Regions from separate parts of the Homo sapiens genome. Here all the other regions are linked to region 1. The links are contacts of gene promoters, found by promoter capture Hi-C in human tissues and cell types (Jung and others, 2019). All regions are on one chromosome and are shown on one strand. Each heading gives the region's core, a stretch centred on a gene start or on the middle of the fragment in contact. The rest is flanking DNA. Distances are from core to core; before and after follow the strand shown. Region 1 holds the start of HSD17B2 (hydroxysteroid 17-beta dehydrogenase 2). Region 2 overlaps MPHOSPH6 (M-phase phosphoprotein 6). Region 3 has its middle 32 kb from the start of MPHOSPH6. Region 4 has its middle 40 kb from the start of HSD17B2-AS1. Region 5 has its middle 41 kb from the start of SDR42E1.

Region 1 (4,685 bases), core at 1,544-4,043:
AGGTTCCTGCCCTCATGAAGTTTATGGTCTAGTAGGGGAGACAGAAAACGTTCTTAAACTGATCAAAGTAAATATATAATTGTGGATTGAGCTAAGCGCAACAAAGGCAATGAATAAAGCGTGCTGATAGGAGATACTCAGATTGGGTGACAGGAGGTGATGTTTAAGCAGATATCTGAAGGATGACAAAGGAAACAGCCGAGTGCTGAACTGAAAGAAGAAATAAATGAGTGAGGAGGTAGCTGTCAAGAACCTCTCTCTCTGCTCAGAGGAAAAAGGCTAAGAGGCAGTGGGTACTCTCAACAATGAGAAAAGTGCCTACCATCCATGAGTGCCTGTAAGTGCCAGGGACGATGCAAGAATGGTGTCATTCACTTTTCAAAACAGCCCTTGGAAGAAAGACTCCTCCTACCGCCAATTTACAGAAGAGGAAACTGAGGCTTAGGAAGGGCAGGTAACTTGCCCAGTGCCTCACAGCTAAGCCAGGATTCGAACTCAATTTAGAAGTCTGTGAGACCCGAAAGCTCATGTTCTTAATACTGTTCAGCCCCTTCACCATCAGGGCTCAGGGAGTATCCTTCATGGGACTTCTGTGTGGCCTGAGGGTGGCTTTTGCTCATAGATTTTACCCTCCCCTTGGGAGCCCCAGGACAGAGTAGGTCTGGGAACTCGCAAGGGCTGCCTCCAGGAGAAAAGCCACCTCTCTCAAGTGGGCGTGCACTTGGCAGGAAGCCTGCGCAGGTGTTTGGCTCAGCCCAAATGTGGGAGCCACTGACCAAATGCCAAGACTCTCAGCGAAGAGCCATAGCTAGTCCTGTCTCCCCACCTGGAAGCTGTTTTTCGAACGGAGCTAACTGCCAGGATGCTCTGGGCTGGTGAGGCCACAAGGATTGTGAGAGGTGCCCTGTGGCTCAGATGGCACCCAGGAAGGAATTGGGGTCTGTTGAGGGAGGGAGAGTTCAGGGCTAGCCAAAGGCAATTCCAGATCCCTGCCCCTAAGCTTCCTGGCCTGGAGCTGGTAACGTCTCCCTGACTCAAATGTCCATGTGGCTGGGAGGGCAGACAACAGTTGCCATCACTCCACGCAGACCCTCATAACTGCCTTGTTGTCCAACCCCACAGTCCCACAGCACAGTAATGGTTCACAAGACACTGCTTCCCACCCCTTCTCCCTTGGGTCTTGAGTTGGCTTTGAGCCCAGGTGGGCTCTGCCTCACCTCCCTTTACAGGGGATACGCTGCTGGGTCCCTTCCTTCCCGAGTCCTGCCTCCCCAACATCATCCACAAAAGGCATCCTCTCCCTTCCTCCTCCTGCCCCTCATTTAACTCCAGCACGTGTTTTGAGACAAGTCTATACTCCACTGGACACTTTGTTTTACACGACTTCCTCTTATTCTTCATTCTCCTCCTGTTTAAAAAACATGAATCACTAGCATTTATGAGGTTCCTTCTACTGTTCCAGGCAGGATATGATATTATTTTATAGCCAAAGGGATGAAGATCTAGGGAGGTGAAGTGACCCTCCCAAGACTATGTAATTAATAAGTAGTGGAGTTAAGATTAGATTTGAATAGAGGGAAACTGACCTCAAATAGAGAATGTTTCTCTCTAGCTATGCCAAAGTCCAGCCTTTATCACAACCTTGCCTCCCTCCAGCCAGGCATGTGGCCCACATGGGGCACGCCCTGAGCCCAGGTGCGGTGACCCCTCTCTGGCTTAGCACGGTTAGGTGGTGCTGTAGTTGCAGAGTGCTGGCTTTTAAGCCGCTTGTGAGTAAGGGATTTATTTTTTCCCAGCCTCAGTTTTTCTCTCTGTAAACTGACCATAATAATAACACCCACCTCAAACAGTTTTATAAGGTTGAAATGGGGTGAAAGTAGGAAAGATCTAGCACATAATGCACTAATTTTTTTTTTTTTTTTTGCCTAAAGCAGGCAGTGGAATAGAATGCTTAGGGGCATACAGCTCTGAGATCAGGCTGCAAGACTCCACTGCTGTGTGATCTTGACTAAGTCTCTTACCCTCTCTGTGTCCTGGTTTCCTCACCTGTAAAATTACTATAATACTAGAATCAACTTCATAAGGATATTGTATTCAAGGAGGATGAGAGGAGTCCCAGTGAATGGAGGCTGGCATAGAATAGGCTTACAATAAAGAGAAAGAACAAATAAGCAGCTATACACAGCCTCTGCCACAAAAAACTACCAATAGATATTAGCCGCTATTAGTTAATTGTCATTATTATCTCTCCCTGGCATGTTTCCACTCAGGCAAGACCAAAGCACTTTCCTCTACCAAGGAATATCTTCCTCTACTTTCATATCCCTCTCCATCCAACCCTTCAGCCTGCCTCAGTTGGGATTTGTAGGAGTCCTGAAGCTATGGACCAGATCAGAGGTGCCTTCCCTTCCAGAATCTATTTTCCAAACTTCATCGATTGCCTATATTTATATGCATGCATGCACACACACGCACACACACACACACACTCTCACTCACTCCCGAGTCAGAAAAAGGACTCAGCACCCAGACATACTGCAGGCTCTTGAAGAAGACAGTATTTTCCTGTGAGCTAGAGGATCTTCCTGTTATTCTCCATGCAGTTCAAATTCTGTCAATTATTATCCAGTTAGTCATCGCTCCAGAGGTGGACTGTCATTAAAAAAAAATAGAAGGTGTGTGTTTGTGGGTGAGTATGTGCATGTGTTGTGTATGCAGGGGGTGGGGAGGGGCGAGAGCGGTCAAATAGGAAGTGCCTTGGTATTTATGTTGAAGTGCACACTGGTTTAAATTACCCACTGGGAATATGATTATGCTTAATCTATGCTCAGTTGAAAGGGGCTGGGGCTGCTTTCTCCCCTCCCTTCTTGACTCTCTGTTCACAGAACTCAGGCTGCCTCCAGCCAGCCTTTGCCCGCTAGACTCACTGGCCCTGAGCACTTGAAGGTGCAGCAAGTCACTGAGAATGAGCACTTTCTTCTCGGACACAGCATGGATCTGCCTGGCTGTCCCCACAGTACTATGTGGGACAGTATTTTGCAAATACAAGAAGAGCTCAGGGCAGCTGTGGAGCTGGATGGTCTGCCTGGCAGGCCTCTGTGCAGTCTGCCTGCTCATCCTGTCCCCTTTTTGGGGCTTGATCCTCTTCTCGGTGTCATGCTTCCTCATGTATACTTACTTATCTGGCCAAGAATTGTTACCTGTGGATCAGAAGGCAGTCCTGGTGACAGGTAAGCAGACGGTGCTACAATTTTCACTGAGGGTATGATCTGAAACTTGCTTTGCCTTAGCAGGACTTTGTCAAATCTGGCTTAAAAATAAAATACTTGGCATGGAGTAAATGAAAGCCCTCACCCAAGTATTTTTCATGACACTGTTTTCGTTCCGTTTTTTCCAGGAGGTGCATTTGAAGGGGCTGGTAGTGGGAGGGAAGGAGAGGATGAAGTGCACCCAGACAATGATTTTGTTAAAATTTCCCAGGAATAAATATTAATAGGCAAAATGGCAATATTTCATGTGTTCTATTGTACCCAGGAATGTCCCATAGATTGTTTTTTAGGCTTAAATGGACTTTTGTTCTGACATCATTGTTTGGCCAGGTTCTCCACCTGGACTCTTCTTCCCTAGGTATGCAAGAACGCTTACAAGCCAAGTTCTACTTGTCCCTTGCTGTTTTGAAATATTGAAGGGATTCACTTACCTGGGCTGGAGACTTTGCAGTTTGCTTGGCTGCTGTCAAGAACCTTGTGTCCTGTCTGAACTGTTCCTCATTAGACCTCTAATGTTTCTTAATTGGACCAACTTGGCATCGTGTCCAACATTCAGTTGCCTGTTAGCTGAGCTGCCAGTTTTTCCCTTGTTTGTGTGTGTGTGTGTGTGTGTGTGTGTGTGTGTGTGTGTGTGTTTCCCCATTGCAAGTGTGAGGCCAAATTAAATTTCTTTGAGTTGTAAAATTTTTGCTTGGTTATGGAGTTTAAGCTTGGATAGGGCTGTAATTAGGATTATCCAGCGTTATCCTAACCCAGAAAGCCCTACCAAATAAAAAAAAAATCAGCTGTGGAATCATTTGGGGGAGATCATCACCCCTCTGACCATGATCCTCAGGGTGAAGGCAAGAATGGCATGGGGATGTGGTTGGGAGAAAATCTGGGGCTTGACAATTTGCAGAGAAACAGACTTTGTTTTTGGGTTAAAGTAAAATGCTTTCTTGAAACAAAATGCAAATTGGTGCTTGTTGGGGTTAGACAAGCCACAGAAAAGAAGCTTCTTTAAATTAATTTTTGAAAGTTTAGAGGGAGAAAATTCAGTCAATGGGATGTTTATCTGCAAGAATGTCTGATATCACCTGGAATCATGTATCTGGGAGTCTGGCTGGATTTTCCACTTTTTTATTAGAATTCTCAAATGGCTTATCGGTGAAATTTGTAAGAGAGTCTCAATTTTCCTGTTCTGTGTCCTGTTCTGTTATGAAACCTTAGGATGAGCTCAGGCAAACCACAGGGTAGCTGAGAAAATGGGAATCCCTTCTTGCTTGTTTATTTTGTCAACATTCTTTATCCTCTGCATTTCAAGATGCAGGTGTTAATTAATGCTCACAAAATATGCACCCAACTCAGTGAGCCCACATCAGCCACTGAAAGGTGCCGTGCATTTAGTGTTGAGTGAGGATGATTGAATCAATTAGG
Region 2 (4,685 bases), core at 1,487-3,986, 120 kb after region 1:
TCTTTTTCAGAAAGGAAATAATATGTATGTAAAAATACACATACAGTATACAGTGACACACTACTCCAAATCATTTTAATAAAGTTTCTGGCATATTTTGTCTTTCGTTCTCAGGGATTTCAAAAATTCCATTCTCTAATTATCAAAGCAGCACATTTTAAGGAACGTAATTTGGAAAGCAGAATAAAGTATGAGTTTATAAACTGCCTGTAAGCTCCTTACCAAGAGGATAAAAAGGACTGTTAGTATATTTGAATATTTCCTTCCAGTCTTTTTTGTACTTGCATTTACGTTGATTCTTGAACACAGGTCTGAGCTGTGTGGTGCACTTATACACAGATTTTTTTCAAAAAATTTCAATAGTTTTTGGGGAACAGGTGGTTTTTTGGTTACATGGATAAGTTCTTTAGTGGTGACTTCTGAGATTTTGGCCCCCACCAAATTCTTATTACAAATCCAGGAGAAGTAGTGGGAAATCAGAGGCTTGAGCAGCTTTAACAGTGTTATCAGTCAGAGCTCTTAGCTATAAACACCAAAGGCTGACCCTGGATGACTTCAGCAGAGAAGGAATTTACTGTAAGAACACTGTAGGCTCTTCATTTCCAAGGGGGACTGGTTCCAGGACCCCTTGTAGATATCAAAATCTGTGACACAAAGAGCCAGCTGTACTGGGCATCTCAGAATCACCGGGAAGGCTGAAGGGGCAGAATTGGAAGACGGGCAGAAATAACGGTCGCTAGGTGGTTGCACCAGAACCAAAATCATGCTAGAGAATGACCCTAGGAAAACCACTGTTGCTGCTGACGGGGCTGAGCACGACACCACTGATGGCATTGGGGCAGGTTGCGTTCCCTGGACCAGGATGTTTCTGTCTGCAGCAGAATTTCTCTGCTGAGTCACCACCACATGACCGTAAATCCAAGGTGACATATCTATCTCCAGCCTGGCCATAAACCCTAAAGCATGGCAGGAAAGCAAACATGTGGCTTTTAAGGCTTGTTTGCCGGAGTAGGCTCTGATTCTCATAAAGATTCCCTTATGCAACAAACACTTATTAAACCAAACTGTGTGTATTAAATCAAACTGCGGAAACAGCCACCAGTAAAAGAGCCTCAGCTGGGCACAGTGGCGGATGCCTGTAGTCCCAGTTACTCAGGTGGCTGAGGCAGGAGAACTGCTCGCATCCCAGAAGTGGAAGTTGCAATGAGTCAAGATTGTGCCACTGCACTCCAGCCTGGGTGACAGTGTCAAACACTCACCTCCAAAAAAAAAGAAAAAAAAGGAGCCTCTGCTCTCCTGGAGGTTACAGTCTATAGAAAGAGGGGCCAAATAATGAATGAAACATGAAACATTTATATCACACAATGGATGAAAATAAAGCAGGTTATTCCATCCCTAGCTGTAGGGGAGTAATTGGTATGGAACTAGCTTTCCTGCACCATAATTATATAAAACAGGACAAAATATAAAATGACCATTTTCAGATAATGAACAAATCCAAGCATATGACTGTGATGCCTGAGAGAAGAAAATCAAATGAAGTAGACCCCATGAATGCGGAGCTTTCTGCCTGGAGGCAATTTCCAGATTGTGGAGCAGGGAGTGGGGGACTCACACAAAACCCTGTCTTGCTGAGCTTAAGAGACAAACTGTTTCATTGGGGCTTTAGTTGAAAAAAATAAAGGCACAAACTGAAGTTTGGGGTTATGGTGGTGGCTGGAATATCTGGGTGAGGATACCACTGAAAGGGAGCTACACTATGGAATTCAGGACCTGCATACTGGGTTCCCTTGAATCTTTGGCTGACCATGAAGCTGCACATGTGCAGGATGAGTCTTTAGACTTAGGGAAAAAGTAACTGCTGGAGAGATGATTTCTGGGAGAACACCTGCTGCATTAGCTTCCTGTGGCTGCTGTAACAAATTTAAGCTGACAAAATTGGTGGCTTAGAGCAACAGAATTTATGCTCCTACAGTTCTGTACAAAATCCAGATGTTAGTAGGCCTGGGATCCCTCCAGAAGCTTCCACGGTTACAAGGCCTTCTGTGTGTCAAATCTTCCTCACCTCTCCTCCTTATAAGGAAAAGTGATTACATTTAGGGCCCACCCAGATAATCCAGGATAATCTCTCATCTAAAGATCTGTAATTTACTCATATACCAGCAAGGTAAATTTTGCCACATAAGGTAACACTCACAGGTTTCAGAGATGAAAACCTAGATATTATCTGGGAGACCATTTTCCAGCCTACCATACCTGGGGAAAAAAAATTTACCCTGCAATTGCATGTTGAAGAAATAACAGAGCTTGCACAGAGCAAGGAAATGTTTGAGTTCTGCCTAGCCAGAGAGGAGAGAACAAGCTAAACACTCTGTGATATTTAGTAGAAAGGCCACACCTTAGGAGTAGAGACAATTTAGCTACAAAACACACCCTAACAAAATCAAGCTGATTGGCATGTAAGTCAACTGCCTAATGAAACAAAATTCAACACTCTATTAAGAAAAATAACAAAATCCAGGTAGTCAGCAATGTAATACATACAAATGTACAGCACACAATAAAAAATTCCTAGACATGCAAGGAAGCAAGAAAATGTAATCCCCTCATAGAAAGAAAGAAAACAACTGAAAATGAAATTAGTAGAAATGGACTTTAGAATAGTTACTGTAAATTTATTCAAGGATTTAAACGAAAACATGCATGCAATGAAGAAAGAAACAGAAAGCCTGAATTAAGAAATAGAGACTGCAAAAAAACACCAATAGAACTTATATAATTAAGGGAAAAAACAATTTAAAAAAATAAATTATATAACTGAAAAAAAAACTGCAGTGAAAAACTGGATCAGTCCTATATCTATCAAATAAATGGAATTCATTACTAAAAATCTTTTCACAGAGAAAGCTTCAGATCCAGATGGCTTCACTGGTGAATTTCACCAAGCATTTAAGGAAGAAATAATTTCAATTTTACACAAACCAAGAACTAAGAAGAGGAGGTAGGAACACTTTCCAACTCATTTTATGGCCAAAACCAAAGACATTACAATAACTCTACAGTCTAATATCTTTTTTAAATATAGATGTGAAAATCATCAATAAAATGTCAGCAAATTGAATTTAAAAATTTTAAATGTTACATATGAAGACCAAGTAGAGTGTATGTCAGAAATACAAGGCTGTTCTGATATTCAAAAGTCAATAGTTTTCAACACATTAACAAAATAAAAATCATGATCTTCTCATAAGAAATTATTTGACAAAATTCAACATCATTTATGATGAAAACCCTCAGCAAACTACGAAAATAAAGGAGTATCTCTGACCACTGATCAGGGGCATTGACGAAAACAGCACTTCATGTGTAATAGAGAGAAAGTAAATGCTTTCCCAACTGTGATCAGAAACAATTCAAGGACTACTCTTGTCGTTTCTATTCAATACTGTATTGGGTCCTTAGCCATGAAATAAATCAACAAGAGGAGATAAAATGTATAACTGTCTTTTTTTGCAGATGACATAATTATGCATGTAAACAATCTTAAGGAATCCACAAAAAAACTACTTGTCAGTGAGTCAATTTAGCATTACAGAATACGAAGTCAACGTACAACCTTCAATTTCTACACACCCCTCCACCCCATACATACACACAACAAATAAGTTTGAAAAAACTCTATTTATGATATATAAAACTATGACAGACTTAGAGATAAACAATGCAATAAGCAAAGAAAATTTTTTCAATAAATGTTAATAGGTGCAGTGGCTCATGCCTGTAATCCCAGCACTTTGGGAGGCCAAGGTGGGCAGATCACTTGAGGTCAGGAGTTCAAGATCAGCCTGGCCAACACGGAGAAACAGTGTCTCTACTAAAAATACAAAAATTAGCCGGGTGTGGTGGGGCAGCACCTGTAATCTCAGCTACTCAGGAGGCTGGGGCAGGAGAATCGCCTGAACCCGGGAGGTGGAGGTTGCGGTGAGCCAAGATTGCGCCACTGCACTCCAGCCTGGGTGACAGAGTGACACTCTGTCTCAAAAAAAAAAAAAAAGTTAATAGGATCACAGGTTATCTATGAAAGACATGTCCTTTGATTTCTACCTCATGCTGTACACAAAAAGTTAGAGGCAAACCATGGATAAAAATGTCAGCACTATAACTACAAAATTTCTAGAAGAAAACAGAAAATATCTTACCATCTTGGCATAGCCAATGATTCATTAGACGAGAGTCATAAGGAATTAACCATAAAAGAAAAAATTGATAAAATAGAAACTCATCAAAAGACAACATTAACAGGCTAGAAGAAAATATTCACTATATATATATGTGGCAAAGAACTTGTATTCAGAACATAAATAACTCCTACATGCACAGATGTATGTAAGTTTTGTCTCAAAAAAACCCTAGAAACACTGAGCTTGAGTTAATGATGTGCATGCTGCAATATTTCAGAAAGAAATATACTGATGTCTGCAACTTACTGCATCAAAAATACAATAAACTGATGGCTGGATGGGGGATGAACAAATATGTGATATAAAATATTTAAAAAAACAAAACAAAAACAAAACTTTCTCAATTTTTAAAATGGCCAAAATATTTGAAAAGGCACTTCACAAAGGTAGATATGGAAATGGCCAAAAAGGAAGAAGTTCTTCAACATTATGTCATCAGGAAAA
Region 3 (4,685 bases), core at 927-3,426, 100 kb after region 1:
TCATGACAGGATAATGAAGGAATTCTTAACGGGACCCGTTTAGGAGTAAATAAGTTTTATTGGGGGGTCCAAAGAAACTCCCCAGGCCTCCACAAACAAGCCTTATTGGGTACTAAAGAAACTCCCCAAACCTCCATGATTTAGCAGGAGACAAGACAAAGGTATTGACCCCAGCACCTGGACCCATTTAGGTTAAGTAAATTTACTCAGGTTCCAGAGGAAGAGCTTCAAGACTCAGACCTTAGTTATAGATGAAAAGAAGTTAATCACTTATGTCTTTAGATGAATGCACAAATGCACACTTACATGTAGACATATAGCTTAGAAGGTATACAAGCTCTGGAAAACTTTGTAGTTTTGAGTTGGTCTGGGGATAATTTCAAGGCCTTCTCCCTGTAACTGGTTACAGAAATAAAAACTTGATTCTCTCCCAGTTCATCTGCATCTCGTTATTGGGCTGCGAGAATAAGTAGCCCGACCCTTGGCTTGGTCAGGAACAGCATGACATAAGAGACAGAGCACTGGCTTTGTAATCAGTTGATCTGGGTTCAAATCCTGATTCTATCACTTAAAAGCTGTGTGACATTGGGTGTACCAAATGTCTCTGTGCCTCTGTTTCTTCATGGGTAAAATCATGGTAATACTTTACATCCCCCCCCCATAATTCGGTGCCTGGCCCAGTGTCAAGACTCAGTATTTATTATTGAGTTGTTATTATCGTTACGGTGAATGACGTCGCAAATGTTCCTGGCATTTACAGACAGGTCTCCACTGCACGGTTGTCACAATGGTTACTCTTTTGGGGAGCTCCCATCGGAGCAGCTGCTTCCACCTTGCTTTATTTTCCTGCAGATAATGTCCTGTTCCCGTCATTATCTGCTAACTTCTTGACTGAATGCCTGATAGGAGCTCAGATAGCCAAGTGTGGCTTTGTGCCACACCCTCCTAACATAGCTCGTTTTCTGTTCCTATGGACTACAGAATGCGCTCTAGGGTTTGAACTGCAGACCTGTTCCTGCGTCATTCTCTATGTTTGACTTGTGGCCATCCTAGTGAGGTTAAATGAAGCTCTGAGGTGAAAGCAGGAAGGATTCGGTTCAGGGAGAGCGTTTGTTTGATACAGGTGTTATACATGATGAACTATCCATCAGGGACAGGGATCAGAGCAGAGGTCAGAGAAGAGTGGTGGAGGTGAGAACCTGCCATGATCGGGAGAGGAGGGAGGGATGTCACAGTAACATGCAGTCTGCTAATATTTGGCAGATTGTCATCTTCATGACCTCAATGGTCTTGTTAGTTCCTGCCGCAATTTTGCAGTTATGTAGGGTCACCCCTGCTCTCCCCATCCAGACAATGCTGATGAAAGAGATATTAGCAAGAGATACCATCCAGATCAAATATATCTTACAGAGATCAGTGCAACTTTGCATGAATGAGTCCAACTTTGCACGAAGTAAGAGTCCAGGACTCTTACTTCCTGAGTATCCTGAAACCCAGTGCATCTTTTCCCTGGGGAAAATGAAAACACAAAGCCATCCAAAAAAAACAAGCAAAATATATTGGAAGGAAACTCTGGTATATAACATTGAGCTGCTGGTTTGAAAAGCAGTGACCTCTCTGTGCAAATGATTTTTTTTTCCAAACAGAGCTGAACAAGGTAAGATTCTGGGTTAATGGCTTCCATAACGATTAAAATTAAAATGTAAACCATCTGTAGTAGGGCTTACAGCCCTGCAGGAACTTACAGAACCATCAAATAATTTTAATAAACTGCTTATGCAAGCCTATTTCTATGGGAGGTCAGACTCCAGTCTCTCTTTAAGAGGCTGCCAAGACACCCTGGACTCAGATGATAAGGCATCTGCGTGTTCTCTGAGGCCAAGACTGCGAAAATGTGTCTCAGCAGGCAAGGGGGGAAAACTGATACCTTTATAAAAGACATATTAAAAAGTGAGAGGTCTCTAGGGATTTTCTTGAAACTACCATTAAAGCTACATCATCTCTCTTTCCCCAGAAAGCCCACTTGGATTAAGCTCATCAACCAATGGGAATGTCAGTGATTGGATGGTTGTATGTCGGCGTGAAACAATGGTTATCTGTTAAACTGAATTTTATATCCGTGTGGTGTTCAGTTTTTTCCCTCAGGATCTGGGATAGTGAAAGTTCCCTTGATCTGTGGGCTTTGTCTTTGTGGTGCTAACTGCTGAAGTACTTGCCTCCAGAATAGGCACCTCTGCTGACGGCTAGAGCCACAAACATTCCTGATCCCACTGGTGGCGTTTTCCTATTAAGTTGGGTGCACATTTCCATACAGACACGATCAAACATTGCATGTTATGATTAGAAATAAAGCTGAGGACTGAGAAACTGAATATACAATGACCAGACCATATATAAAAACAGAATGTTGACCCGTCACCTGCAGCAACCTGCCCAAGAAACCAACCCCTATTTACAGTAAGCAACCCAGGAATCCAGCCTGCTATATAAACCACACTTGCAGGAAGCCAGATTGCTATCTTGGAAGGTAAATAATTTCTGTAACGATCGGCCCCAGATGGCCAGGACTTAATAACTGAAGCTTCCCTAATTTTGCCCTTGCTTTCAACTTAGGACCAACTAAAGAAAGTCAAACATGTACCTCTTACCTATCACACAGGGTGCCCTGCACGTAGTTAGCTTACCTCCAGCTTCTTCACGCCAACAGTCCAATCAGCACACCTGAGCCTTCTCTTCCGTGGGTCTTAAAGCTTTTGCATTCCTCTGCCTGCCTTTGAGTCTCTGCGCAAACGCTAGTGATGGTGGCCGACTCCTTTGCTATAGCAAGCTCAGAATCGATAGCCTTTGCTTTTCTCCTTTGGTCTTTGTTCAGTACTATAGTTTAAATAGACTTTGTGAGCCAGTTGGTTTCTAAATCATTCTAACTGCCATTCACTCACTTACTGAAGAAATATTTACTAAAAGCTTCAATATAGGCCATATTTCTTGCTAGACACAGGAGCAAATGAAATAAGATAGGGGCCCTCCCCTAGAGGACAGTAACTTGGCAACTAAAGGGATGAACGGGATGACTTGGCAACCAAGTCAAAGGGCATTAAAATACAGAGGCGGACTCAAACGAAGATGGCCGAATAGGAACAGCTCCGGTCTACAGCTCCCAGCGTGAGCAAAGCAGAAGACGGGTGATTTCTGCATTTCCATCTGAGGTACCAGGTTCATGTCACTAGGGAGTGCCAGGCAGTGGGCGCAGGTCAATGGGTGCGCGCACGGTGCGCGAGCCGAAGCAGGGCGAGGCATTGCCTCACTTGGGAAGCGCAAGGGGTCAGGGAGTTCCCTTTCTGAGTCAAAGAAAGGGGTGACGGACGCACCTGGAAAATCGGGTCACTCCCACCCGAATATTAACCTTTTCGGACCGGCTTAAAAAACGGCGCACCACGAGATTATATCACACACCTGGCTCGGAGGGTCCTACGCCCACGGAGTCTCGCTGATTGCTAGCACAGCAGTCTGAGATCAAACTGCAAGGCGGCAGCGAGGCTGGGGGAGGGGCGCCCGCCATTGCCCAGGCTTGCTTAGGTAAACAAAGCAGCCCGGAAGCTCGAACTGGGTGGAGCCCACCACAGCTCAAGGAGGCCTGCCTGCCTCTGTAGGCTCCACCTCTGGGGGCAGGGCACAGACAAACAAAAAGACAGCAGTAACCTCTGCAGACTTAAATGTCCCTGTCTGACAGCTTTGAAGAGAGCAGTGGTTCTCCCAGCACGCAGCTGGAGATCTGAGAACGGGCAGACTGCCTCCTCAAGTGGGTCCCTGACCCCTGACCCCCGAGCAGCCTAACTGGGAGGCACCCCCCAGCAGGGGCACACTGACACCTCACACGGCAGGGTATTCCAACAGACCTGCAGCTGAGGGTCCTGTCTGTTAGAAGGAAAACTAACAAACAGAAAGGACATCCACACCAAAAACCCATCTGTACATCACCATCATCAAAGACCAAAAGTAGATAAAACCACAAAGATGGGGAAAAAACAGAACAGAAAAACTGGAAACTCTAAAACGCAGAGCGCCTCTCCTCCTCCAAAGGAACGCAGTTCCTCACCAGCAACGGAACAAAGCTGGATGGAGAATGACTTTGACGAGCTGAGAGAAGAAGGCTTCAGACGATCAAATTACTCTGAGCTACGGGAGGACATTCAAACCAAAGGCAAAGAGGTTGAAAACTTTGAAAAAAATTTAGAAGAATGTATAACTAGAATAACCAATACAGAGAAGTGCTTAAAGGAGCTGATGGAGCTGAAAACCAAGGCTCGAGAACTACGTGACGAATGCAGAAGCCTCAGGAGCTGATGCGATCAACTGGAAGAAAGGGTATCAGTGATGGAAGATGAAATGAATGAAATGAAGCGAGAAGGGAAGTTTAGAGAAAAAAGAATAAAAAGAAATGAGCAAAGCCTCCAAGAAATATGGGACTATGTGAAAAGACCAAATCTACATCTGATTGGTGTACCTGAAAGTGATGGGGAGAATGGAACCAAGTTGGAAAACACTCTGCAGGATATTATCCAGGAGAACTTCCCCAATCTAGCAAGGCAGGCCAACGTTCAGTTTCAGGAAATACAGAGAACGCCACAAAGATACTCCTCGAGAAGAGCAACTCCAAGACACATAATTGTCAGATTCACCAAAGT
Region 4 (4,685 bases), core at 689-3,188, 71 kb after region 1:
AGGTCTACATCCTGCCTCTGCCAGCATTTTAGCTCCAGGACTTGGACATATGAAGAAACATATGACCCTCTTAGGGAATGGAATGTCAACATGAAGGGTGAGGCTGACAATCTCCCACAAATGGAAGGTGTGTCTCCCATTTCTTGGTCCTTTATAAACATTCGGCTCCCCCTAATCCAACATTTTAAGCTCAGTCCTCCAAGCTTGCCTTGATTATGTGAATAATATATACATTCAAAAATACTCTCCTTTTGGTAAAAGACAGTCAGAATTCACTTTACGTTACTTGCAAGCACCGCATTCTAATTTATACCATCATCATCATTATCATCAATATCATTGCCAAAGTGTTTTCAAAGGCTTATGGCTAACACTCAGGCCCACATCTTCATGGGTCCTCAGGATGAATGGCTCCAAGAAGAACTCACTCTCTAAAAGGCCCTACATGTGAAAATGATGGGATGTGAGTTTCCCCTAGTGCACCATTCCAGGTTCCCATCCCTCCCCTCTCTCTGGCTAGGACTCTGCCTCACCTGCTGGGATGAAGAGGGATGAGGCAATGTGCAAACAGGACTTGTGGGAACCCAAGGTGGCTCTCCTTATTTTCAGGTCAAAGAACTGCTCACCCTTCCCCAAAACCCCAGCATGCCAGATGCATTTTGTTTTTGTTTTTGTGGTTTCAGTCCTGGTTAATATTGCTCCAAATGTCACATTCTTGGTGGCAGATCAACAAGGCAGTATGTCATGGGCATTTTGGAGTCACCTGGTGTTATGGTCTGAATGCATGCCCCCTAAATCCATGTGTCAAAATCCTCACCCTCAATGGGATGATATTCAGAGGTGGGACCTTTGGGGGGTGATTAGGTTGTGAGGATGCAGTCCTTGTGATGAGGTTAGTGCTGTCACAAGAGGAGACAAGGGAGACAAGGGAGAGCTTGCTTTTCTCCCTTCACCATGTGAGGACACGACAAGAAGACGGCCGTCTGCAAACCAAGAAGTAGGTGCTCAACACACACCGGGTCTGCCGGCACCTTGATCTCGGACTTCCAGCCTCCAGAACTGTAAGAAACAAATGTTTGTCATTGAAGCCACCCGGTCTATGGTAATTTATTACAGAAGCACCAACTGAATAAGACACAAAGACTTGGGTTCAAATCTCGGGCTTACTGTTCAACAGCTGGGTGACCTTAAGTAAGCTGCTCAACTTCTCTGCATCTTAAGGTTTCGTTTTTGCTTTTTACTCTAAAAACAGGTGCAGTGGTAACGATAATCTCATAAAGTTGTTTGTGAGGATTAACTGTGATGATAATGCAAAGGGTTCAGCCAGTGCCTGGCATTTAATAAGGGCTCCATGAATGTGGTAGTAATCGTCATACTTTTCTTCTCTTGTATCTAAATGAAGACGAGATCAAGAGGTCACTTTGGTCTGTCCTTTCTAGCTTGAGGCCAGATAGTGAGAAGGTCAACATGGCTCTGAATTTGTACCCAGGACATCAGGAACAGCCTAATCCAAATGGGGCCTTTCACTGTTGGTTGGCTAATGCTTCTCCCTCCCACTAGGTCACAGGAGAATCGTTTATTAGGTTGGTGCAAAAGTAATTGTAGTTTTGGCCATTACATTTTTTTTTTTAAATGGCAAAACCACAATTGCTTTTTCACCAACCTAATATGAACAAACAATGAGGCTTATACCTCCTATTCCTCCTGATAAAAATCCCTACTGCCTGTTTTTTTCTTCTTTTATTTTAAGATAACAATCATTGATGACTTTCTACATGCCAGGGACTGTGTTGAGCAATTTCGCAGTCATCCCCCCTTATCCGTAGGGGGTATGTTCCAAGACCCCCAGTGAATGCCTGAAACAGGGGGTAGTACAGACCTATATATGCTTTTTCAAGTTTGAGGTGCAACAGCAAAACTAGCATAAGTTTCTTTTGCCTTCTTCACCATTTCACAAACAGAAGAGTTGTTCTTACTGTGGCTTTTAGCCACATCGGCGTACAATTTTTTTCTTTCCTTATGAAGTTGAGAACTTTCATTTTTTTTTTACACAAAGGAAGCACTTTACAGCTTCTCTGTGGCATGTCCAAATTGCCAGCCACACTACTCTTGCATGTTGGGGCCATTATTAATAAAATAAGGGTTGTTTGAACACAAGCTCTGCAATACAGCAAGTGTTGATCTGATCACCGAGATACCTCCTAAGTGACTAATGGGTGGGGAGCGCTGGCAGAGTGAAAACACTAGACAGAGGAATGAATCCCCCCTATGCAGGGCAGGGTGGAAGGGAGCAGGATGGAGTGAGATTTTATTATGCTCCTCAGAACAGAGTGCAATTTAAAACTTATACATTGTTTGTTTCTGGAATGTTCCATTTAATATTTTCAGACCATGGTAGACTTCAGATGCCTGAAACCAGTGAAAGTGAAACTGTGAATAACGGGGACAACTGTACTTGGATATACCAATCCAATCCTTATAATGATTCCATGAAGTAGGTGTATTCTCATCCCAATTTTTAGATAACATAACAGACTTACAAAGTTAACTTGTCCAAAGTCACACACCTAGGACATAGTGGAGTTGAGCAAAATTTTTAATCTGAACTTGTTCAACTTCAGTTTTTAAAAAGTAGCAATTACGCAGTGGTTCATTTCTTTTTGAAGCCAGTTTTCTGGGTTCAAGTCACAGTTCTGCCACTGATGAGCTATGAGATCTTGGGGATTTTACTTGATTTTTTCCTAGTGCCTTAGAACTGTCATTTGTAAAGTGGAGAGGATAATTTTTTTTTTTTTTTTTTTTTGAGATGGAGTCTTGCTCTGTAACCCAGGCTGGAGTGCAGTGGCACAATCTCGGCTCACTGCAGTCTTCTCCTTTCAGGTTCAAGCGATTCTCCCACCTCAGCCTCCCGAGTAGCTGGGATTACAGGTGCCTGCCACCACTCCCAGCTAATTTTTGTATTTTTAATAGAGATGGAGTTTCACCATTTTGGCCAGGGTGGTCTCGAAATCCTGACCTTAAGGGATCTGCCTGTCTCGGCCCCCCAAAGTGCTGGGATTACAGGTATAAGCCACCACACCCGGCTGAGAGGATGATGATGAATAGCAGCTGTCTCATGGAGCGGTTACAATATTAAATAAGTTAATCTATATTAAGTACTTAGAGCTTACTTGGCTCTAGAAGGCACACAATAAGTTGTTATTCATATGGCTAATTATAGGGTGCTATAGTAATGATGGAAGAAAAACCAAAACATGAGCAGAAAGCATTAGGAAAGATGTTGTGATGCGGAGAAGGCTTTGGACTATGTAAAGTTTTATTTAAGCTTACTTCTTTGAGCTGGGCTTGAAGCAATACATCATTTCCTTATACAATGGTGGTAAAGTTTCAGCAGGTCACTAAATGATTTTGAAAGGCAACATGATCTTTCTGATCAGTAGATAACTGGGTGGTCCAAGCAGGCACTGATCACACACGTGCATTTCTTTCTACAGGGTTGGCTCCCTAGCATGGAGGGCCTGGGAAGAGGTCCACAGTGCAAGCCTGTGTAGGCCACATCCTCAGGCCCCTCTCCTCCACTGGACCCCAGGCCAGGAAGGGAAAACTCATGACTTTCATGCTACCTCCCTCCTCTTTCCACAAGGTCAAGAAATAATTTTCAGAAAATGTTAAAATCTCATACAAACATACAATGAGCAGACATCAAAGTTTTATTTAACTCATTAATGAGATAACCAGCAGGATGGCAAAGCTGGTCTCAGAGAGGAGACGAGAAGCTGTTATATAAATAGAGTGTCCTTTAAAAAATGATGGTAGAATTAGATTGCTAAATCAGATATAAAACTAAAGAACAGATTACGGTTCTATGGAGCAATGTACTTATCATCTGGGTCTAGGCTCTATCCTGGTCAGAAATTATTTGCATCTCTATGGGATAAAAGTAACAGGCACTCCATCACCCTCAGCAAACTGACAAAGGACCAGATAACGAAACACCACATGTTCTCACTTATGAGTGGGAGCTGAACAATGAGAACACATGGACACAGGGAGGTAATGACACACACTGGGGCCTGCTGGGAGGCAGGGTTGTGGGAGAGAGAGGATTAGGAAAAATAGTTAATCCATGCTGGGCTTAATACCTAGGTGATGGGTTGATAGGTTCAGCAAACCACCATGGCACACTTTTACCTGTGTAACAAACCCACACATCCTGCACATGTACCCTGGAACTTAAATATAAAAATTAAAAAAATTGAAAAGTAATTGGCACTCTTATTAGTTTCTCCAAGTTAACATCTACCTTTACAGAACTGGGCCAATATATAAGTTGCACAGCAAGCAAAGTCACATTTTCTCAGAGAGTCAGGTTGTCCTTACGTGGGCTTTTAGACAATGTTCTGGCATTGTTTACACGATACTAAAAACATTACACATGTATTTTTTGCCTTGGTTCCAAATTTTGGTTAATTTTTTCATAACAATTACCAGGGTAGAGATTGCTAAGTGACCAGGAAACTCTTTTCCACCAAGCCTAGATATGGCCTCCGACTCTTTCAGCATCGTGCCCACCCAGCCACCAGCAGTTGATGACAACTTGTGTGAGAAAGGAAACTGATTTGCCATCCAGCTCTTGATGACAACAGGGTTTAGATGTTCCAGGCAGCTTCTTTCACGGCTGGCCG
Region 5 (4,685 bases), core at 1,008-3,507, 64 kb before region 1:
TTCATTCTTTTGCATGCGGATTTTCAGTTTTCCCAACACCATTTTTTGAAGAGACTATTCTTTCCCCACTGTGTATTCTTGGAAGCTTTGTCAAAGATCGGTTGATCTTAGGTGCATAGGGTTATTTCTGGGCTCTCTATTCTGTTCCATTGATCTATATGTCTGTCTTTTGCCAGTACCATAATATTTTATTACTGTAGTTTTGAAGTGTGTTTTGAAATTAGGAAGTATGAGACCTCAACCTTTGTTCTCTTTCAAGATTGTTTTGGCTATTTGGGATCATTTGTGGTTCTATATGAATTTTAGGATTGTGTTTTCTATTTCTGTAAAAAATGCCATTAGGATTTTGGTAGGAATGACATTGAATCTGTAGATCACTTTGGGTAATATGGACATTTTAACAATATTAAGTTTTCCAGTTCATGAACATAGGATGTCTTTCCATTATTTGTGTTTTAAATTTCTTTCAGCAATATTTTATAGTTTTCAGTGTACAAGTCTTTCATTTCCTTGGTTAAGTTTATTGCTAAGTGTTTTCTTTTTGACGCTGTTATAAATGCGATTGCTGTAATTTCCTTTCCAGATTGCTTGTAGTTGGTGTACAGAAACATAACTAATTTTAGTATGCTGACTTTGAATCCTGTAACTTTACTGAATTTATTAGTTCTAACAGTTTTTTTCCCCTTTGGTGGAATCTATAGGATTTTCTACACCTAAAATCATGTTATCTGTGAACAAAGATAATTTTTCTTCCTCCTTTCCAGTTTGCGTGCCTTTTATTTCTTTTTCTTGTCTACTTGCTCTGGCTAGAACCTTCACTAGTATGCTGAATAGAAGTGGTGAGAGTGAGCATCCTCACCTCTTTCCTGATCTTAGACGAAAAGTTTGTTTTTTACCTTTGAATATGTTAACTGTCGTGTTTTCATATATGGGCCTTTATTATGTTGAGGTAATTTCCTTGTTATTCCTAGTGATATGATTTGGATAGTCATCCCTTCCAGATCTCATATTGAAATGTGATTCCCAGTGTTGGAGGTAGGGACTAGTGGGAGATGTTTGGGTCATGGGGGCAGATCCCTCATGAATGGCTTGGTGCCCTCCCTACAGTAATGAGTGAGTTCTCACTCTTAGTTCATTTAAGAGCTGGTTGTTGAGAAGAGCCTGGCATTTCTCTTGTTACCTCCCTTGCCATATGACACACTGGCTGCCCTTCTCTTCCACCATGACTAAAAGCTTCATGAGGCCTTACCAGAAGCATATGCTGGCACCATGCTTCACAGTCCACAGAACTGAAAGCCAAAATAAATTATCCAATCTCAAGTATTTCTTTATAGCAACACAAAATGGACTAATACACCTAGTTTCCTAAGTTTTTTTAATCACAAAAGGGTGTTGAATTTTGCCAAACGCAATTTGTTTCTATTGATATGATCATGTAATTTTTATCCTCTGTTCTGTTCCTGTGGTGTATCACATTTTTGATTTGCATATTTGTAATCATTCTTATGTCCTAGGGATACTCTCCAGTCTCTTATAAGTGACTAAATCCCACTTAGTCATCATGGTGTATGTCCTTTTAATGTGCTATTGAATGTGGTTTGCTTGTATTTTGTTAAGAATTTTGCATCTATATCTGGGATATTGGTCTGCATTATTTTTTTCTTGTAATGTCTGTTTTTGGCTTTGGCACTGGGGTAATGCTGGCCTCATAAAATGACTTCGGAAGTATTCGTTCCTCTTCTACTTTTTAAAAGTTCAGAAGCATTCGTCTTAATTGTTCTTTAAATGTTTAATAGAATTCATCAGCAAAATCTTCTGGTCCTGGGCCTTTTTTGAGATGTTTTTGATTACTGATTGAATCTCCTTACTAGCTAAAAGTCTGTTCAGATGTTCTATTTCTTTATGATTCAGTCTTAATTTTCTATTCTCTACTTTGATAACTTCTACCTTAATCTTTATTATTTCATTTCTTCTGCCATCTTTGGGCTTAGTCTGTTTGTTTCTCATTCCTTGAGGTATAGAAGTTAGGTTATTTGAGCTCTTCTTTTGGGAGGTAGGAATTTATCACCACAAATTTTCCTCTTCCTACTGCTTTTTTCTCCATGAGTTATGTTTTTGTTTTGTCTAAAGATATTTTATAATTTACCTTTTTATATCTTCTTTGACCCATTGGTTGTTCCAGAGTAGGTGTTATTTAATTTCCATATATTTATGAGTTTTCTGATTTTCCTTCTCCTACTGATTTTTAGTTTCATTTCACTGTAGTTGGAAATAAATTTGAGAATTCAATCTTCTTAAGTTTGTTAAGACTTGCTTTGTGATCTGTCCTGGAGAATATTTCTGTGTGCACTTGAGAAAATGTGTATTCTGCTACTGTTGGGTGGAATGTTCTGTATATGACTATTAGGTGCATTTGATTTATAGTATTTTTCAAGCCCTCTGTTTCCTTATTGATCCTGTGTCTAGATGTTCTATTCATTACTGAAATCTCCTACTATTATTGCGATGCTGTTTTTCCCTTCAGTTCTGCCGATGTTTGTTTCATATATTTAAGTGCTCTGATGTTTGGTACATACATATTTACAATTATTATATCTTCTTGGTGAACTGACCCATTAATCATTATCTGTCCTTCTTTGTCTCTTGTAGCAGCTTTTGACTTAAAGTCTATTTTGTTTAAGTATGGTCACCCCTCTTTTAGTAGCTTAGCGTATCTTTCTCCATCCTATCACTTTAAGTATATGTGTGTCATTAAACTTAAAGTCAGTCTCTTATATACAGCATCTAGTTGAATCTTGTTATCCTTCAGCTACTTTGTGTCTTTTGACTGGGCAGTTTAATACATTTACATTTAATTATTGATAGGAAAGGACTAACTATTGCCATTTTGTTAATAATTTTCTGTCTGTCTTGCAGCTCTTTTGTCCCTTTTCTTCTTTCACTGTCTTCCTTTGTTGATTTTTTGTAATTTTTGTAGCTAACATAGGGCTTACATGAAACATTTTATAGTTGTAACAATCTGTTTTAAGCTGATAACAACTGTAATCACATTGAAAAACTCTACAGTTTTACTCTTTCCTCCAAACTTTGTCAATTATGTCATAAATTTTATCTTTTTATATTGTGTATCCCTTACATATTTTCATAGTTTTTAAATACTTTTGGCTTTTAACATCTGTACCAGAATTAAAAGTGATGTATACACTAACAATATAGTATTCTGTGTTTAGCTATATACTTACCTTTACCAGCAAACTTTATACTTTCATATGCTTTTGTATGGCTGCTTAGAGTCTGTTTAAACTTCAAGAACTTTAGTATTTGTTGTTATTCAGGCCTAGCGGTGATGAACTTCTTCAAATTTTATCTGAAAAAGTCTTTATTTCTCCTTTGCTTTTAAAGGACAGTTTGCCAGATACAGTATTCTTGAACAACCTTTTCTCCCCCTCCTTTCAGCACTCCCAATATACTGTCCCATTCTTTTCTGGCCTGCAAGGTTTCTGCTGAGAAATTCACTGATTCTTATGGGAGTTCCCTTGTATGTAATTAGTCCCTTTTGTTGCTCTCAAAATTCTGACTTTTGACAACTGATGTCTCAATATGGACTTCTTTGAGTTTATTCCCTTTGGGTCCATTTTCTTTCAGAGATTTGACAAGTTTTTGGACATTATTTATTTAAAGAAGCTTTCTGTCTCTTTATCTCTTCTACTTTTGGAACTAACATAATGAGTATTTTGGTCTGCTTATGGTGTCCTATAAGTCTGTGAGGCTTTTTTCTCTTCCTCTTCCTTCCTTCTGTTCTTCCTTCCTTCTCCTTCCCTCATCTTCCTCTTCCTCTCCTTCCCCCTCCTCTTACCTCTCCCTTCTTCCCCCTCCCCCCACTTCTCTTCTTCTTCCTGTTTTTGCTCCTCTGGCTGGATAATTTCAATGATCTGTGTCTGGGCTTTCTGTTCCCAAAAGAGAAGGAACACACGAACACACACACACACACACACACACACACACACACACACACACACGTGAAAGCTTTCTGAGTCAGGGTCTTGCTCATGTCACCCTGGCTGGGGTGCAATGTTAGGGTCACAACTCACTGTAACTTTGAACGCCTAGGCTCAGATGATCCTCCCACCTCAGCCACCTAAATACCTGGGACTAAAGGCATGCAGCCACATGCCTGGATAATTTATTTTTTATTTTCTGTAGAGATGGGGTCTTGCTATGTTGCCCAGGCTGTTTTCAAACTTGGCCTCAAGCTATCTCCTGCCTTGGCCTCCCAAAGTGCTGGGATTACAGGCATGAACCACTATTCCTGACTACAGAATATATTTTTATTGAATAAAAATTATAAGGTGACAGACCAAAAAAAAGAGACCTCCTAAGCTCATTTTAGGAGGGTAGAGGACAATCAAGGAAGAGAGGGAAAATCAAGAAAAGTGAAAGGAACAGAGAGAAAGGGAGGGAGGATGATGCCAATCTCACTGTTAAATAGAGTAGAAATCCTGAAAAATATTTGCAAACCAATGTTCACTTGTTCATAACGTAGAGTTAATCTCAGGAATCCAGTAATGGTTTAATATTGGAAAACCTATCAATGCAGTTCTCTACATTAATAGATTATGCTTTTCCATAAGGAAATTGATAATATGAAACACATATGCCACATAAAAGCTTTTAGTGAATTAGTG

What was found. The method cuts DNA at HindIII sites, captures the fragments that hold promoters and counts their contacts. A contact is called where the count stands out against the background at its distance.
Region 2: a contact is called between a fragment that was not itself captured here and the fragment with the promoter of HSD17B2 in region 1, in 2 of the 25 tissues and cell types used here (bladder and spleen).
Region 3: a contact is called between a fragment that was not itself captured here and the fragment with the promoter of HSD17B2 in region 1, in 3 of the 25 tissues and cell types used here (adrenal gland, neural progenitor cells and spleen).
Region 4: a fragment that was not itself captured here is called in contact with the fragment with the promoter of HSD17B2 in region 1 in 2 of the 25 tissues and cell types used here (mesendoderm cells and thymus).
Region 5: a contact is called between a fragment that was not itself captured here and the fragment with the promoter of HSD17B2 in region 1, in 3 of the 25 tissues and cell types used here (liver, ovary and thymus).

Annotation. Positions count from the first base shown.
Region 1 is chr16:82,032,460-82,037,144 of GRCh38, forward strand. It overlaps HSD17B2 (hydroxysteroid 17-beta dehydrogenase 2), which reads left to right and starts at 2,794. Exons shown (of 5, transcript NM_002153.3): 1 at 2,794-3,230. The coding sequence starts at 2,966. The HindIII fragment of the contact is 4,836 bases long and covers 1-4,501 here.
Region 2 is chr16:82,151,866-82,156,550 of GRCh38, forward strand. All of the region lies in intron 2 of MPHOSPH6 (M-phase phosphoprotein 6), which reads right to left. Among named protein-coding and RNA genes, the nearest start is that of MPHOSPH6, 16 kb to the right of the region's middle. RefSeq lists an enhancer at 719-1,013. The HindIII fragment of the contact is 4,298 bases long and covers 588-4,685 here.
Region 3 is chr16:82,136,136-82,140,820 of GRCh38, forward strand. No RefSeq gene overlaps it. Among named protein-coding and RNA genes, the nearest start is that of MPHOSPH6, 32 kb to the right of the region's middle. RefSeq lists an enhancer at 3,295-3,882. The HindIII fragment of the contact is 3,486 bases long and covers 434-3,919 here.
Region 4 is chr16:82,104,290-82,108,974 of GRCh38, forward strand. No RefSeq gene overlaps it. Among named protein-coding and RNA genes, the nearest start is that of HSD17B2-AS1, 40 kb to the left of the region's middle. The HindIII fragment of the contact is 4,940 bases long and covers 1-4,408 here.
Region 5 is chr16:81,968,518-81,973,202 of GRCh38, forward strand. No RefSeq gene overlaps it. Among named protein-coding and RNA genes, the nearest start is that of SDR42E1, 41 kb to the right of the region's middle. The HindIII fragment of the contact is 3,196 bases long and covers 660-3,855 here.